Regions from separate parts of the Homo sapiens genome. Here regions 1, 3, 4 and 5 are each linked to region 2. Evidence: promoter capture Hi-C in 16 types of primary human blood cells and fetal thymus (Javierre and others, 2016). All regions are on one chromosome and are shown on one strand. Each heading gives the region's core, a stretch centred on a gene start or on the middle of the fragment in contact. The rest is flanking DNA. Distances are from core to core; before and after follow the strand shown.

Region 1 (2,700 bases), core at 95-2,594, 410 kb after region 2:
TTTTCATAAAGCTAAGTGACCTCAGGCAAGTCATTCAATCTCTCTGTGCTTCAGTGTCCTCATCTGCAAAGTGGGGACAATATTCCTACCCTAGAGGGTTAAATAAGCTAATATGTATGTGTTTAAATCACACCTAGAACGTGGTAAATGTTACATGTGTATTAGCTATTATTATTTTTCCAGTATTTTAGTATTAACCAATGCATTAGTCACAATTACTAGAAAATGGTACTCTTTTTCTTTTTGAGATGGAGTCTTGCTCTGTTGCCCAGGCTGGAGTATAGTGGCAGGATCCCGGCTCACTGCAGGCCTCCAACTCCTGGGTTCAAGCAATTCTCCTGCCTCAGCCTTCTGAGTAGCTGGGATTACAGGTGTGCGCCACCACACTGGACTAATTTTTTTGTATTTTTAGTAGAGACAGGGTTTCACCATGTTGGCCAGACTGGTCTCAAGCTCCTGACCTCAGGTGATCCACTCACCTTGGCCTCTCAAAGTGCTGGGATTACATGCATGAGCCACCGTGCCCAGCCAGAAAATAGTACTCTTTAGTGTTTTTTCCCAGAATGGATATTAATTCAATTCAGGTATATACTAATAAACTCGTGAGTACAAAGAGAAATCTTAAAACATAAAAACAATTTTAAGTCATTCAAATAATTTTTATAGCTAGTAATATCAGCATTTAGATAAAAGTTCTGTTAAAAAAATTTTCCTAAGATAGATATATATTGTTTGTGTAAAAGTCAATTTCTGTAATCTATAATACTCGTGGTTTTTTTTGTTTGTTTGTTTTTGTTTGTTTTTTTTTTGAGACAGAGTTTCAGTCTTGTTGCCCAGGCTGGAGTGCAATGGTGCGATCTTGGCTCACTGCATCCTACGCCTCCTGGGTTCAAATGATTCTCCTGCCTCAGCCTCCCTAGTAGCTAGGATTATAGGCACCCGCCACCACGCCTGGCTAATTTTTATATTTTTAGTAGAGATGGGGTTTCACCATGTTGGCCAGGCTGGTCTCGAACTCCTTTCCTCAGGTGATCCACCTGCCTCAGCCTCCCAAAGTACGGGGATTACAGGCGTGAGCCACTGTGCCTAGCGCTAGTGGGCTTTATTTTTTTTTAAGTTTTTGAGACAAAGTCTGGCTCTATCCCCCGCTGGAGTGTAGTGGCACAACCTCAGGTCACTGCAGCCTCCACATCCCTGGTTCAAGCAATTCTTGTGCCTCAGCCTCTGGAGTGGCTGGGATTACAGGTACACATGACCATGCCTAGCTAATTTTTGTATTTTTTTGTAGAGATGAGGTTTCACCATGTTGCCCAGGCTGGTCTTCTTTTTTTTGGGATGGAGTTTTGCTCTTGTTGCCCAGGCTGGAGTGCAATGGCGAGATCTCGGTTCACTGCAACCTCCGCCTCCCAGGTTCAAGCGATTCTCCTGCCTCAGCCTCCCGAGTAGCTGGGATTACAGGCATACACCACCATGCCTGGCTAATTTTGTATTTTTAGTAGAGATGGGGTTGGTCAGGATGGTCTCGAACTCCCAACCTTAGGTGATCTGCCTGCCTCAGCCTCCCAAAGTGCTGGGATTACAGGCGTGAGCCACCATGCCCAGTGTCCAGGCTGGCCTTAAACTCCTAAGCCCAAGCAATTCACCTGCCTCAGCCTCCCAAACTGGAGAGATTACAGGTGTGAGCTACCGCACCTAGCTTATGATATTTCCGCACCTAGCTTATTTAAGTCATTTATTCATTTTTTTTTTTTTACCATTTACTAAGTTTTGAACTCTACAGAATCACTTTACACATATTATCTCATTTAATCCTTTTAATAATCTTATGAGATACTACTATTCTCATTGACCAATAAGGAAACGAGTTTATTTAAATTAGGTAGCCTAGTCAGTGTTTGAACTATAACTAATACCTATGTGTGATGTCAGAGTTTGGTTCTTAACAGTTTTAGACTAGTACAACCAGATCACGCACTATAAGGCAAATAATAAATTAATAACTTAAAAGAAAAAAATTGAACTAATCTTTACAGTTATATTTTCTTTACAGTTTAGATATTCTTATGTTGCTATTATTATTGCTAATTAAATGTTACTTTGTATAATGCTGTATAAAGACATAGACCTCAGGAACACTTATGTTCAGCTTTGCCTTTCACGTATTTCCTAACCTGTCAGCAAAGGGTATGAACTCCATAGCTCCACACAACGGTTCTAGCTAATATTGTTTTTCTCACATAAGAAGCATATGCCATGTTTCATTTTGTAGGAATATTTTGTAATTTGATCAATCAAGTATATATTTCTGTATACTGTAAGAAACTTACCATTGATGCTCTGTATCATTACAAACAAAATCATAAAACCCAATCTATAAGAGAATTTTCCTTTCACTGATTCTAATAGTAGACAGTACATGTAATAATCATTCCCAAATCTCTTTCTCATATTAAGAACAACATTTAAGGCAGAATCCTGAAAAAGCTAAAACAGGACTCAAAAGCAGTGGTATTTTCAATAACTAAATCTATTAATATCAAATATTTCAAGAGTAGAATGGAAGACATGGGTGATAGGAATGAGGATAAGAACAGATGTAGGTTTAAATGGCCAGGGCTTAAGTTCACAAATTCAAGTAACTTCAGACTTGGAACTACCAGTCGCTGAATATATGGGCTAGATTTACATCTTACTATATAA
Region 2 (2,828 bases), core at 132-2,631:
GGGGTAGGACTGGGAGAAGAGGAGCTGTCAGAAAAGCTGGAGAGCCATTCGCCCCAGAGCTCTCAGTTGCACCAGAACGCACAGTCGGAGAGAGATTTATTTGTGAACAAGCCCGAGAAAGGCAGACAACCCAGACAAGATGGGCTCAGAAATTATTTATCATAGGCTAGGGCAGAACAGTCTGGAGCTTTCCTTCTGCTTTGCAAGCACTTCCCTGGGACCTGCCTGGGAAGCACAGCCCTTCTTCCTGGTAAGTTACAGAAGGTCAGGCACTCAGCTAGTAGGCCAGCTAGACAGCAAAAAGTGTCTAAACTAAGTGCCAACTGTTTACTTGGGGTCTTCCAGACCCTATCATGGTTCTATTCGTCATGGTACACTCTGTTTGATTTCAATCGCACCATCTTTATATGTAGGAAGGCCAAACCGGCCCGGCTGTGTTGGGTGGGATTTCTGCAGGCCATGCAGTGAGGACGCCACTAGCTATAGACACACGCAGGAGACCCACGTTCTATTTCCATATGCCACTTGCCACTGACCTCAGAGAAATCATTTTAAACCCTGAACCTCAGCTTCCTTATCCTGAAAATGAAGGCCATTCTACTTCTTAGGCCTTCTTGACAGGAGCCTTGGGAGAGCCAAACGGAGTAATTCCGGTGACAGCGAAGAACTGGGAGGGACCGTGACTCCAAATTACTGAAGAAAAATAAGTTAAACATGCTCGGCTGGAGTTTTAGGAATTCCACCCGCCCCCACCCGCCATGATCAAACTGCAGTCAGGCAGCAGCCCTCCGAATTGATTCTTTCTTATGGACTGTCTCACATGCCAAACACCTATGTGCAGCACCCCTCCATCTCCGTGGGCTCCTATTGATGTCTGCCTTGCAGTGAAAGCGCTTTTTGTTGCCGCTGTTCGATACACCCCAGCACATCAACGCAGCAGCTGGGAGCAGGAGGAGGAATCCCTTCGCTTTCTCCCCTCCTTTCACTCCGAACCCTAGGCATCAGCAGCAACGCGCGTAGCCCGGCAAATTTCCGCACGTGAATGGATTTTCCTGGCTCATCTCCAAAGACCTTGCGGTATTTCACAAAGCTGAAGAGAGGTGAACGAGCATCACCCCCTCCAGGAGGTCGTGCAGCCCCGCGGGGACGCTCCTCCCGCTCCTCCACCCGCGGTGCAGCGGCCGCCTCCCGAGCTTGCTCGCGGGGCCGTTAGCGCCAGACCCGGCGGAGAGCCAAGGGGTCCCTCCGCGCCTCCCTCTCGCAGCCCCTCTCCACCAGTAGCAGCGCTGCTGTCTTCCCACAGGAGGACTTGGGAGGACGCTGGATTCTGCAGCGCCCCCGCCCCCTCGCTTTTTCTTTCTTTCCTTGCTTTGGGATCTTGCTGCTGGATCCGGAGAGGTTCTGAGAAGACAAGAGCAAGGGACTGAGAGCAGGCTTCCGCTGCGGCGCGCGAACACAGCCGGGACACAACCCCCAGCGTCTCCACCCGCTCCTCGCCACCCCGGCGGGAATGTGAGGAAGGAAAGCCCCCAGCGCCGCCGCCCGCCCTCGAAGGCGTCCCAGAGAGCGTCCTGGGGGCCCGCGGCTGGAGCCCTTGTGCCCGCAGCACCGCCGGACTGGAGCGGCGAGGCGCACCGGGTGCCGCTTCTCGGCTTCCACTCTTCAGAAAGAGCGCGGTGGGGATCAGCGCCTTTCCCGCACTCGGCACAACTCCGGGACCGGCGGCGCGCGGCTGGACCGAGTCCCGCTTCCCGCCAGCTCACCTGGAGTCGGGGGCAGCCCCTGCCCGCCCGCCTGCACCCCTTGTCGCTCTAGCTTGCGCGAACCTGCCGCTCCTCCACGCCCAGGTAGTGAGCCCCGCGGCTCCAGGTCTCTGCAGCGCCCTCGGCCCCATGGACAGCGCACCCATCACCACTCCCTAAGTGCTGGCGCCGCCGCTGTCCAAGCTGCGCACTGGGGTCCCTCGGCTCGCCCCTCTCTGGGGTGTCCGAGAGGCCAGGGAGCGTGCACCATGAAGTCCGCGCTTTTCACCCGCTTCTTTATCCTCCTGCCCTGGATCCTAATTGTCATCATCATGCTCGACGTGGACACGCGCAGGCCAGTGCCCCCGCTCACCCCGCGCCCCTACTTCTCTCCCTACGCGGTGGGCCGCGGGGGCGCCCGACTCCCGCTCCGCAGGGGCGGCCCGGCTCACGGGACCCAAAAGCGCAACCAGTCTCGGCCGCAGCCACAGCCGGAGCCGCAGCTGCCCACCATCTATGCCATCACGCCCACCTACAGCCGCCCGGTGCAGAAAGCGGAGCTGACCCGCCTGGCCAACACGTTCCGCCAGGTGGCGCAGCTGCACTGGATCCTGGTGGAGGACGCGGCGGCGCGCAGCGAGCTGGTGAGCCGCTTCCTGGCGCGGGCCGGGCTGCCCAGCACTCACCTGCACGTGCCCACGCCGCGGCGCTACAAGCGGCCCGGGCTGCCGCGCGCCACTGAGCAGCGCAACGCGGGCCTCGCCTGGCTGCGCCAGAGGCACCAGCACCAGCGCGCGCAGCCCGGCGTGCTCTTCTTCGCTGACGACGACAACACCTATAGTCTGGAGCTCTTCCAGGAGGTAAAGGCCAGCCTGCCCCGCTGGGTGGGCGAGGGCGGGAGTGGGCCTCCGGGCCGGCCGGGCTGCAGTCACACGCCCCTTGCACTCCGGGTGCACTTTTGAGTTCTCAGTTCTCCGTGCGCGCATTCGGGGCACCGAGTGGAGCCGCTCCTTGCTGGCACTCCGCAGCCTCCGCTGGCCGTGGGGGTGGAGGGGCTGTGTGTGAGAGGATCACTGTGGCTTAAGG
Region 3 (2,700 bases), core at 147-2,646, 460 kb after region 2:
TTCAAGCAAATCTCCCTGACTCAGCCTCCCAAGTAGCTGGGATTGCAGGTGCCCGCCACCATGCCCGGCTAATTTTTGTATTTTTAGTAGAGATGTGGTTTCGCCATGTTGGCCAGACTGGTCTCCAACTCCTGACCTCAGGTGATCCGCCCGCTTCGGCTTCCCAAAGTGCTGGGATTACAGGCGTGAGCCACCGCACCCGGCCAAAAACATCATTTTTAAGGCTGTATAACTTAGATTACAAGTATCCCATAATTTGTTTAACTATTCTACCATTGGGCATTTATTAAACATTTTTACAATATTATGAATCTTCACATGAACTCTGTTTAGCTTTTGGTATACACTAAGAGGAGATATTTTTTCTGGCTGTGGATACGTACTGCCAAACTAATCCCTGAAAAAGACATACAAGGTATGAGAATTTGTATCTCACCATGTCTCAAGACGCATTATAATATGTTATAGGTTGTTGATGTTAAAGTTTATGACAACCATTTACATACTGAAATTTAAATATGTATATCTAAAAAATTTATTAGCAATACATGGATACATATGTTATTTTTAAACATTTAATATAGACGCATGTAAAGAAAATTCCCCTTTACAAACCTTATTCGTCACGCCACTTTTTTTCTGTATTACTGTTAAAAGCTTGGAATATATATATCCTTTCAAATATTTCATATGTAATCACATAAACACAATAAAATACACAAACAGCTTTTTAGTTTTAACATACTATATGAAATCATATTATTCATATTTTTCTTTATTTTTTTCAATTAATATATCTTGAAGAGTTTTCAGCACGCAAACAGTATCAAGCTTCATGGATTAATAAATATTTTCTGAATTAAATAATTCATGACAATTTCATAGAGATCCACCTAATGCTTTTAAATGGCTACATGGGAATTGATAATAATTAATGATGTAATTCCTTATATTTGTGTACATTTATGAGTATTTTTGTAGAACAGATTATCAAATAAAAACTGCTGTGCAGATTTGATAATTGTGCAATATATAAGTGTTTTAAAAATACATCAATGCACTAATGTTAAAAAATACTGTGCCAATTTATACCATCACCAACAGGGTATGCAGATACTAGTTTCACTACACTCTTACAAAAAATGAAGCTCAGTAGTCACTTTTATTCTTGCAAATTTCATAGGCAAAAAAAATAACCTATTAGAATCTGCATTCCCCTGGTTTCCAGTAAGAATGAGTATCATTTCAGGAGCTAAATTATTCTGCTAAGAATTTGTTATTTGTACACTGCCTCATTGTATCCTTTTTTTTTTTTTTTTACAAGGGTGTTGTTTTAAAATTGATACATGAGAGCATGTTATATATTGTGAGCACTGACCATTAGCCTGTTTTAAATATTGCAAATATTCTCTTCCAGTCTATCCTTTGCTTTCAAATTTATAGTATATTTTGTTACAAAGAAATTTCAAATCATCAATGTCTTATTTTGTCCCTTAGGTTTTTATTGGTCTTTAAAAAACTTATCTTTTTAAAAATTGTCTGAGGGAGTCATTTCATATCCCAAGATCAGATTGTTTATATTTACATATATATGTAATTTTTTTCTTCCTAATTTCTTTGGACACTTAAGTCTTCAGTCCACTTAGAACTGCTGCTATAGCATGGCATGACGTTAACTTTACCACAATATTTATAGACCCTGATGTTAATATTTTATCATATACTTAGTTATTAAACATAATAGTGACTATTTTAGGGCTGTTTAATTCCTCTGACTTGTCTTTTTATTCTTTTAGAGAAATCCTACCTTATTTCCTTTCATTTTTATTATTTTACATATATTTTAGTATCCAGTCGAGCAAGTCTTTCTACATTTGTATTATTTAAAAATTACATTATTTTAAAAAAAGTTTTTCTTAGCCATCTTTACATTTCTTGAAATGATTTTAAAAACAAGCTTAAATTTCCAGTGGGATTTTGGTTTGGACTCATTAAAATGATTGACTGGAGTAAAATTTGATATCTTTTAGTGATTATCTACAGGAGTATCATATGTATATTTATTCAAATTTTCTTTAATAGCTCAGTGAAACACTGCAGATGATTTCATATTAACTGCACACATCTTAAGATTATTTTTAAATGTTTAATGTTCTTTTGAGCAATTATCATAAGCACATTAGTGACTTTTTTAAAGAAAATATCTTACTTGAACTGCAGAGAAAACCTCTAGGACAGTATACAAAACTGATGTATCCTGCGTATGTATAATTTTCTAAGGAGAATACCTTTTTGAACAGGTCTAGTCTTCATTCAAATTTATATCCAAAAGTATATCCAAACCAAATACATATTTTTGTTTGATTCACACCTCTGATTTCTTCCATTAATGTAGCTGACCAAGAGTGAATGCATAGTGAAACATACATTTAAATAGTTAAAGCATTTAGTTTCTCAGAAAAAGAAAGGCAAATATATTCAATTTAATTGCAAGAGTGAACTGAAAAAATGATCTGAGAAGCAAATTGATCTACTGAAATAAAACAAATTTTTCATTTTTAAACAGTATCATTTTACAAGTTTAAGTGATGTTTTAAAAATGTGTCCAGAAATTGAGTGAGTGAACAGAAGAAAATGTACTGTTTGATCAGTTAATTATCTTTGCTATTTCATTTATATGAAGAATAATATACTTTTTAA
Region 4 (2,700 bases), core at 14-2,513, 490 kb after region 2:
AGTTACACATTCACTATATAGCTGCTTTGTGCCATGGATTTTCTCAGCTAAGTGGACTGAACAAAAAAACCAACCATTTTCCCTGACCTCACCTAATTCTGTAAATTACATCTACACTAAGTGTACAGAAGACAGAGTGCTATGACATCTTACAATATGGGGGTGAACTTAGGCTGTGAAACCAGGAGAGGCTTTGTTGACAACATAGCATTTGAGTTGAAACACCATGAAAAAGAGTTAGTCAAATGAAGATAAAAGGGAAGAGCCTTTCAGGAGGAAGAAATGGAGATTTCTCGAAGGCAAGGACCTTGTCTCATTTATTTCTTACTTCATGTTAGTATTATGAACATGATCAGCACTTATGGATGTGGAGAAACTGAAACTCTTGTGTACTGTTGGTGAAAACGTGAAACAGTATAGCTGCTGTGCAAAATACTATGGGGGTTCCTCAAAAAATTAAAAATAGAACGACTGGCCACACACAGTGTGTGGCTCACGCCTGTTATCTTAGCACTTTAGGAGGCCGAGGCAGGAGGAACAGTTGAGTCCAGGAGTTCAAGATTAGCCTGGGCAACAAAGTTAGGCTCCATATGTACAAAACATATGTGACTCATGGGGCTGAGGTAGGAGGACTACTTAAGCTCAAGAGGTCGAGGGCAGTGAGCCTTGATTGCACCCCTGCACTCCAGCCTGGATGACAGAACGAGACCCTGTCTCAAAAAATAAAAATAATAAAAATAGAACTACTATATAATCCAGCATCTCACTTCTAGGTATTTATCCAGAAGAACTGATAAAAGAGGGTCAAAGAGATGTTTGCACACTCACATTCATTGAAGCATTATTTATAATAGTCAAGAGGTAGAAAAAACATAAATGTCTATCTACAAATTAATGGATAGTGTGGTATGTACATATTAAAGAATATTATTCAGCCTTAGAAAAGAAAATCCTGTCATAGCTACAACATGGAAAAACCTTAAGGACATTATGCTAAGTGAAATAAGCCAGTCACAGAAAAGCAAATACTGCATGACTCCACTTATATGAGGTATATAAAGCAGTCAAACTCATAGAAACAGAAAGCAGAATGTGGGTTGACAGGGGGTAGGAAAATGGGGAGTTGCTGTTCAATGGTATAGAATTTCAGTTATTCAAGATAACAAAATTTTAGGTCAGGTGTGGTGGCTCATGCCTATAATCCCAGCACTTTGGGAGGCCAAGGCAGGTGGATCACTTGAGGTCAGGAGTTTGTGACCAGCCTGGCCAACATGGTGAAACCCCATCTCTACTGAAAAAAAAAAAAAAAAAAAAAAAAAAAAATTGGCCAGGCGTGGTGGTGCATGCCTATAATCCCAGCTACTTGGGAGTCTGAGATGGGCGAATCGCTTGAACTGGGAAGACGGAGGTTGCAGTGAGCCGAGATCACACCACTGCACCACTTCGGCCTGAGTGACAAAGTGAGACTGTCTCAAAAAAAAAAAAAAAAGAAAAAAAAGAAAGAAAGAAAGAAAGAAATTTAAAAAAATAAATAACTGAAATATTGTTCTGTTATTCCTTTTTACACTTTAATGTTATTATCAAACTGAAGGGTCTGGGAAACAAAAGACCTAAACGTGTATGCTAAGATTACTGTCTTGAATCTGAAACTTTGTTTTCTAATATTTGCTAGATGATAACAACTCCATTAAGTCAGAAACCACATTAATCTTTTTCACTGCTTTAATTTAGGACTGAGCACTTAGGTCTCACACATAGTAGGCAGTCATAAAGTATTTATTTAATAAATGAATGTTCGTCTAACTTCTTAATTTAATATCCTATTTCCTTGTTCAAATGACTTGATTTTTATTTTGCCTATCAGTTATCTGCTAACACAAACATTCAGATCTATAGTTTTAAAGACTTGAGATAATTAGAGGCTTCTAAATGCTTACATTCAATCATGATAATTTATATTTTATTTCTATCACTATCTGCATTTCCGTTTCCTTTGGTTAAAAGTTAGCACTGGTATCTTTCATTTACTTTGTGACCAAGTGACTATTCATTCAACCATAATTTATTAAGTCTCTCAACTACTGGGAAGTAAAAGACATGAACATAAGTAAGAACTCTGCCCACTTTCAGAGCTCCCAGTCTAGTTTGGATAGAAACATTCAAATAAATAATTGCAGTACAATGTGATAATCTCTTAACTGCCTATTTCAGCAGGCCAAAGCAAATAGCAATCTAACACTATCTCTTAAACCAGGTAAAAAGACAATTAAAGGGCAATGATAGAAGCTGTTGAATCTGAGGAAAGCAAAATGGAGGCTTGCCAAATGACTTCCATTTTGTAATCTATGCAGTTTAATTCAAGGACCTAACTTTATGGTGAGTTTTCCATTTATGGCTGTTGAGATTATTCAATTACTGATAACAGTAAAGGATTAGTGACATAATATGAAATGTCTCTAGCTATATGTTTAACTTTTCCTCATTTTTTTTTAAAGCACTGTTCTTTAATGGTGATTGATGTTTGTTTTAGTAGAATCCCATTTCTGAGAAAAAATTATAACAACATAAGCTAAAAGAGGTACATAGAAAATGCTATGGGCCAGGAGTGGTGGCTCATACCTGTAATCCTAGCGCTTTGGGAGGCAGAGGTGAGAAGACTGCTTGAGGCCAAGAGTTTGAGACCAGCCTGGGCAACACAGT
Region 5 (2,700 bases), core at 137-2,636, 290 kb after region 2:
AAGTCAAATAACACAGAAATCTTAAAGGACATTCCCCAAAGAGACTGTCTCCTGCTTTAGAGAACTACCCTATTTCTCACCCAATAACGAAATAAACCAATTAAAAATATACACGATCTTTTCTTAACTACACAAGACATTTCTTTAAAAAAAAAAGAAATATTTCCCTTGAGATTACTTACAAGACATTAAACATAAATCAGATCTCCAAACACAAAACATAGCAGCTAAAAATAGTATATCTGTTTCAAAGGCTGAGGCAGAAGCCCTCCAACCGAAAAAACTAAAATTAGGTTTTTTCCATCTCTAGATCTTTAAAATGAACCTTCAGCATTTATGAGGTACACAAATCAGTGTCCACATATTCTCCCAAACTAGCTGGTCAGAGAAAACCTAATTACTAAAATCTTCAGAAATACAAACCCACCGTCCTCCAAGAGACTCATGTAATGAAATTCCTCTTCATTCTGGCTAATAACCAGACTAAAAAACAATACTACTACTAATAAAGACCTTTCTCCAATTAATTTATTCCGTAAAACTCAAACCCACCGAAAAAGACCACCATACTCTTTTTCAGGAAGCAGAGATAAAAGCCTTGTACAAAAGCTGTCAGGTGGGCAGGCAGGTAGGGCTCCATCTAGGAGACCAAGAATCCGAGCCCGGAGTGGGAGGACGTGGTCACACCGGAGGGTAGAGGAGGGGATCCAGACCTAAGCGCGGCCCCACCCACAGAGATAGCTATGAGCAGAGCTAGGAGGGCAACTCTCTAACCCTAAGCTCTGCCCAGACCCGTGCCCGGTTCCGCGCTCCCAGCCTCGCTCCTACCCCCAGCCCTGTGGAGGGTCCGAGCATCGCTACCCTGGCACCTGCTCAAACCCGTGTCTGGGAGGAGGGGAGGCTGGGGCCACTGACAGGGCCTGCGGGCCTGACCTCGCCGCCGCCTCTGGCGGACTTGAGGGTCGACAGGAGCCCCGCGCCCGCCCGCTCAGCCACCCGCCCTCCAGTCAGGGCAGGAGCCGGCCAGCGAAGCCGAGGCGTCCGCTCGGGCCCCGAGCGCCGCAGCGGCGGGAAGGTCACCGGTCGCAAGAGGCCCCGACCGTGGGCAGCGACGACGTCCAAGCTACCTTTGGCCTCGCAGTCGGCGCAGTACTTGTTGTCCTCCTCCCTCAGAAGCTTGGATAGGATGAGCTGGTGCTGCTCGTTCAGCTTCTGAGCCTTCTCCCGACAGGAGCGCGTCGCCATCTCGGCAGCGGGGCGGGGAGCCTGGGGCAGCTACGGCGGCGGCGGACGCTGGCTGGAGCCGGGCAGAGTGAACGCACCTGGCGCCGCCGGGACCGCGGGCGGACTCAGCCCAGGAAGCGGCAGCGGCAGCTGGAACGGGAGGAGGGGCGGCGGCGGCGGTGGCGGTGGTAGCGCCGACGTGTCCCGCCTCCTTGACCGGCCTGCCGGCACGCACCACCCTAGCCGGCGAGGGGAGGGGGAGGGGGACTGGGTCGCGCCGAGGCTTCCGGGTGGCGCGGAGGAAGGAACCCGGGCGCCGAGCGCGCTGCGCATGCGCCGAACCTACGGGGCCCGGGCTGCCGAGTCTTTTTGCAAAAAGGCCTTCTGCCCAAGGTGATTCCCGAAAGGTAGCTGGCACTGCCTCATACGAGCTTTCCCCCCTTTTGAGATGTGATGGTCCGCAAGGGCCTCTAGTAAAACCCAGTAATGGAAGACCTTTTACAAGAAGCCTACTTTGACTTGCCCATTTGCCTTTGCTCTTGCTGGCACAACATTGGAAATGCAGAAATAACTAGCGACTGGGTGGGTTCATTTACTCATTCGAGGTTTATTCGCCTGCAGTTTAGAAGCTGGAGACACGGATGGAAGAAAAGAGGAAAAACGGTCTCTTACATTTTAAGGGCGAGAAATAATCTAGTAGTGACATGTATTAGGGGATAACATTTCATTGAGTGATTACTCTGTTAAACGAACTGTTAGCTCATTTAACCCTTTCCCCAACCTTATGATATTGTTATCCTCATTACACAGGGGAGGAAAGTGAGGCATAGAGGAGTTAAGTAACCTGACCAGATTACAGAACTACTAGTGGAGGAGTTGAGATTTAAATCCAAAGCAGTCTGGCTCCAGAGTCTGAAAGACCTGGCAGTAAGCCCTTCCATAAGGGGGAAAGTGTGACCAGGAACCCAAGTACTAGGCGGTGATACTTTAACAAGAAGCTGTGTAAATAGTGATCCTTAATGCAAGAGAAAGAGAACTAAAGAAAACACTTTTCATTGGAACCCAGACCCTAATCCAGGCTCATGAAGTTTGAACTCCGGGTGACGCAGTTTCGATGATTTGGCATGTTGTATATTATGAGGAAGTTCTAATATGGGGCTTATGCAAGCCAAATAAACACAGTCCTTGCCTGCGATGAAGCAGATGCTAAGAAAGGCAATGAGCAAGAGTCGGTCTTACACTTCTTAGTAAGGCCAATTTCTAGCCCCTGTCCCTGCATAAAAGTGACCCTCATTGCTACCTAGCCCTGTTCTTGGCACAGGGGCTCAAAAATGTTTCTGGAATTAAATTGAATGGATATGGCAATGAAGATGCTCAGTAATTAAACAAATTAGAGCTTATACTACATAGCTCTGACAAATAACTACTAGGGAGATATTGGTGAGTTCCAATGAACAGAAAAAAACATTATGTGGG

The links. The method cuts DNA at HindIII sites, captures the fragments that hold promoters and counts their contacts. A CHiCAGO score of 5 or more calls a contact.
Region 1: a contact is called between a fragment that was not itself captured here and the fragment with the promoter of B3GAT2 in region 2, in 3 of 17 cell types (erythroblasts, megakaryocytes and fetal thymus). The highest score is 5.6, in erythroblasts.
Region 3: a contact is called between a fragment that was not itself captured here and the fragment with the promoter of B3GAT2 in region 2, in 2 of 17 cell types (fetal thymus and naive CD8 T cells). The highest score is 5.7, in fetal thymus.
Region 4: a fragment that was not itself captured here is called in contact with the fragment with the promoter of B3GAT2 in region 2 in 1 of 17 cell types (naive CD4 T cells); the score reaches 5.0 in naive CD4 T cells.
Region 5: a contact is called between the fragment with the promoter of SMAP1 here and the fragment with the promoter of B3GAT2 in region 2, in 7 of 17 cell types (fetal thymus, activated CD4 T cells, naive CD8 T cells and 4 more). The highest score is 7.9, in fetal thymus.

Annotation. Positions count from the first base shown.
Region 1 is chr6:70,543,161-70,545,860 of GRCh38, reverse strand. All of the region lies in intron 20 of FAM135A (family with sequence similarity 135 member A), which reads right to left. Among named protein-coding and RNA genes, the nearest start is that of SDHAF4, 22 kb to the left of the region's middle. The HindIII fragment of the contact is 4,082 bases long and covers 1-2,700 here.
Region 2 is chr6:70,955,613-70,958,440 of GRCh38, reverse strand. B3GAT2 (beta-1,3-glucuronyltransferase 2) reads left to right here and starts at 1,381. Exons shown (of 4, transcript NM_080742.3): 1 at 1,381-2,602. The coding sequence starts at 2,012. It overlaps LOC124901229, which reads right to left and starts at 2,013. Exons shown (of 2, transcript XM_047419611.1): 1 at 1,913-2,013; 2 at 1-1,809. The coding sequence starts at 2,013. The coding sequence ends at 1,083. RefSeq lists an enhancer at 1,606-2,121 and silencers at 2,050-2,179, 2,650-2,789. The HindIII fragment of the contact is 6,068 bases long and covers 1-2,828 here.
Region 3 is chr6:70,491,276-70,493,975 of GRCh38, reverse strand. All of the region lies in intron 11 of FAM135A (family with sequence similarity 135 member A), which reads right to left. Among named protein-coding and RNA genes, the nearest start is that of SDHAF4, 74 kb to the left of the region's middle. The HindIII fragment of the contact is 1,126 bases long and covers 834-1,959 here.
Region 4 is chr6:70,463,457-70,466,156 of GRCh38, reverse strand. The region is part of intron 5 of FAM135A (family with sequence similarity 135 member A); the gene reads right to left. Among named protein-coding and RNA genes, the nearest start is that of FAM135A-AS1, 51 kb to the right of the region's middle. The HindIII fragment of the contact is 3,869 bases long and covers 1-2,700 here.
Region 5 is chr6:70,666,569-70,669,268 of GRCh38, reverse strand. It overlaps SMAP1 (small ArfGAP 1), which reads right to left and starts at 1,386. Exons shown (of 11, transcript NM_001044305.3): 1 at 1,128-1,386. The coding sequence starts at 1,245. RefSeq lists silencers at 645-704, 825-1,054, 1,205-1,604. The HindIII fragment of the contact is 2,958 bases long and covers 1,179-2,700 here.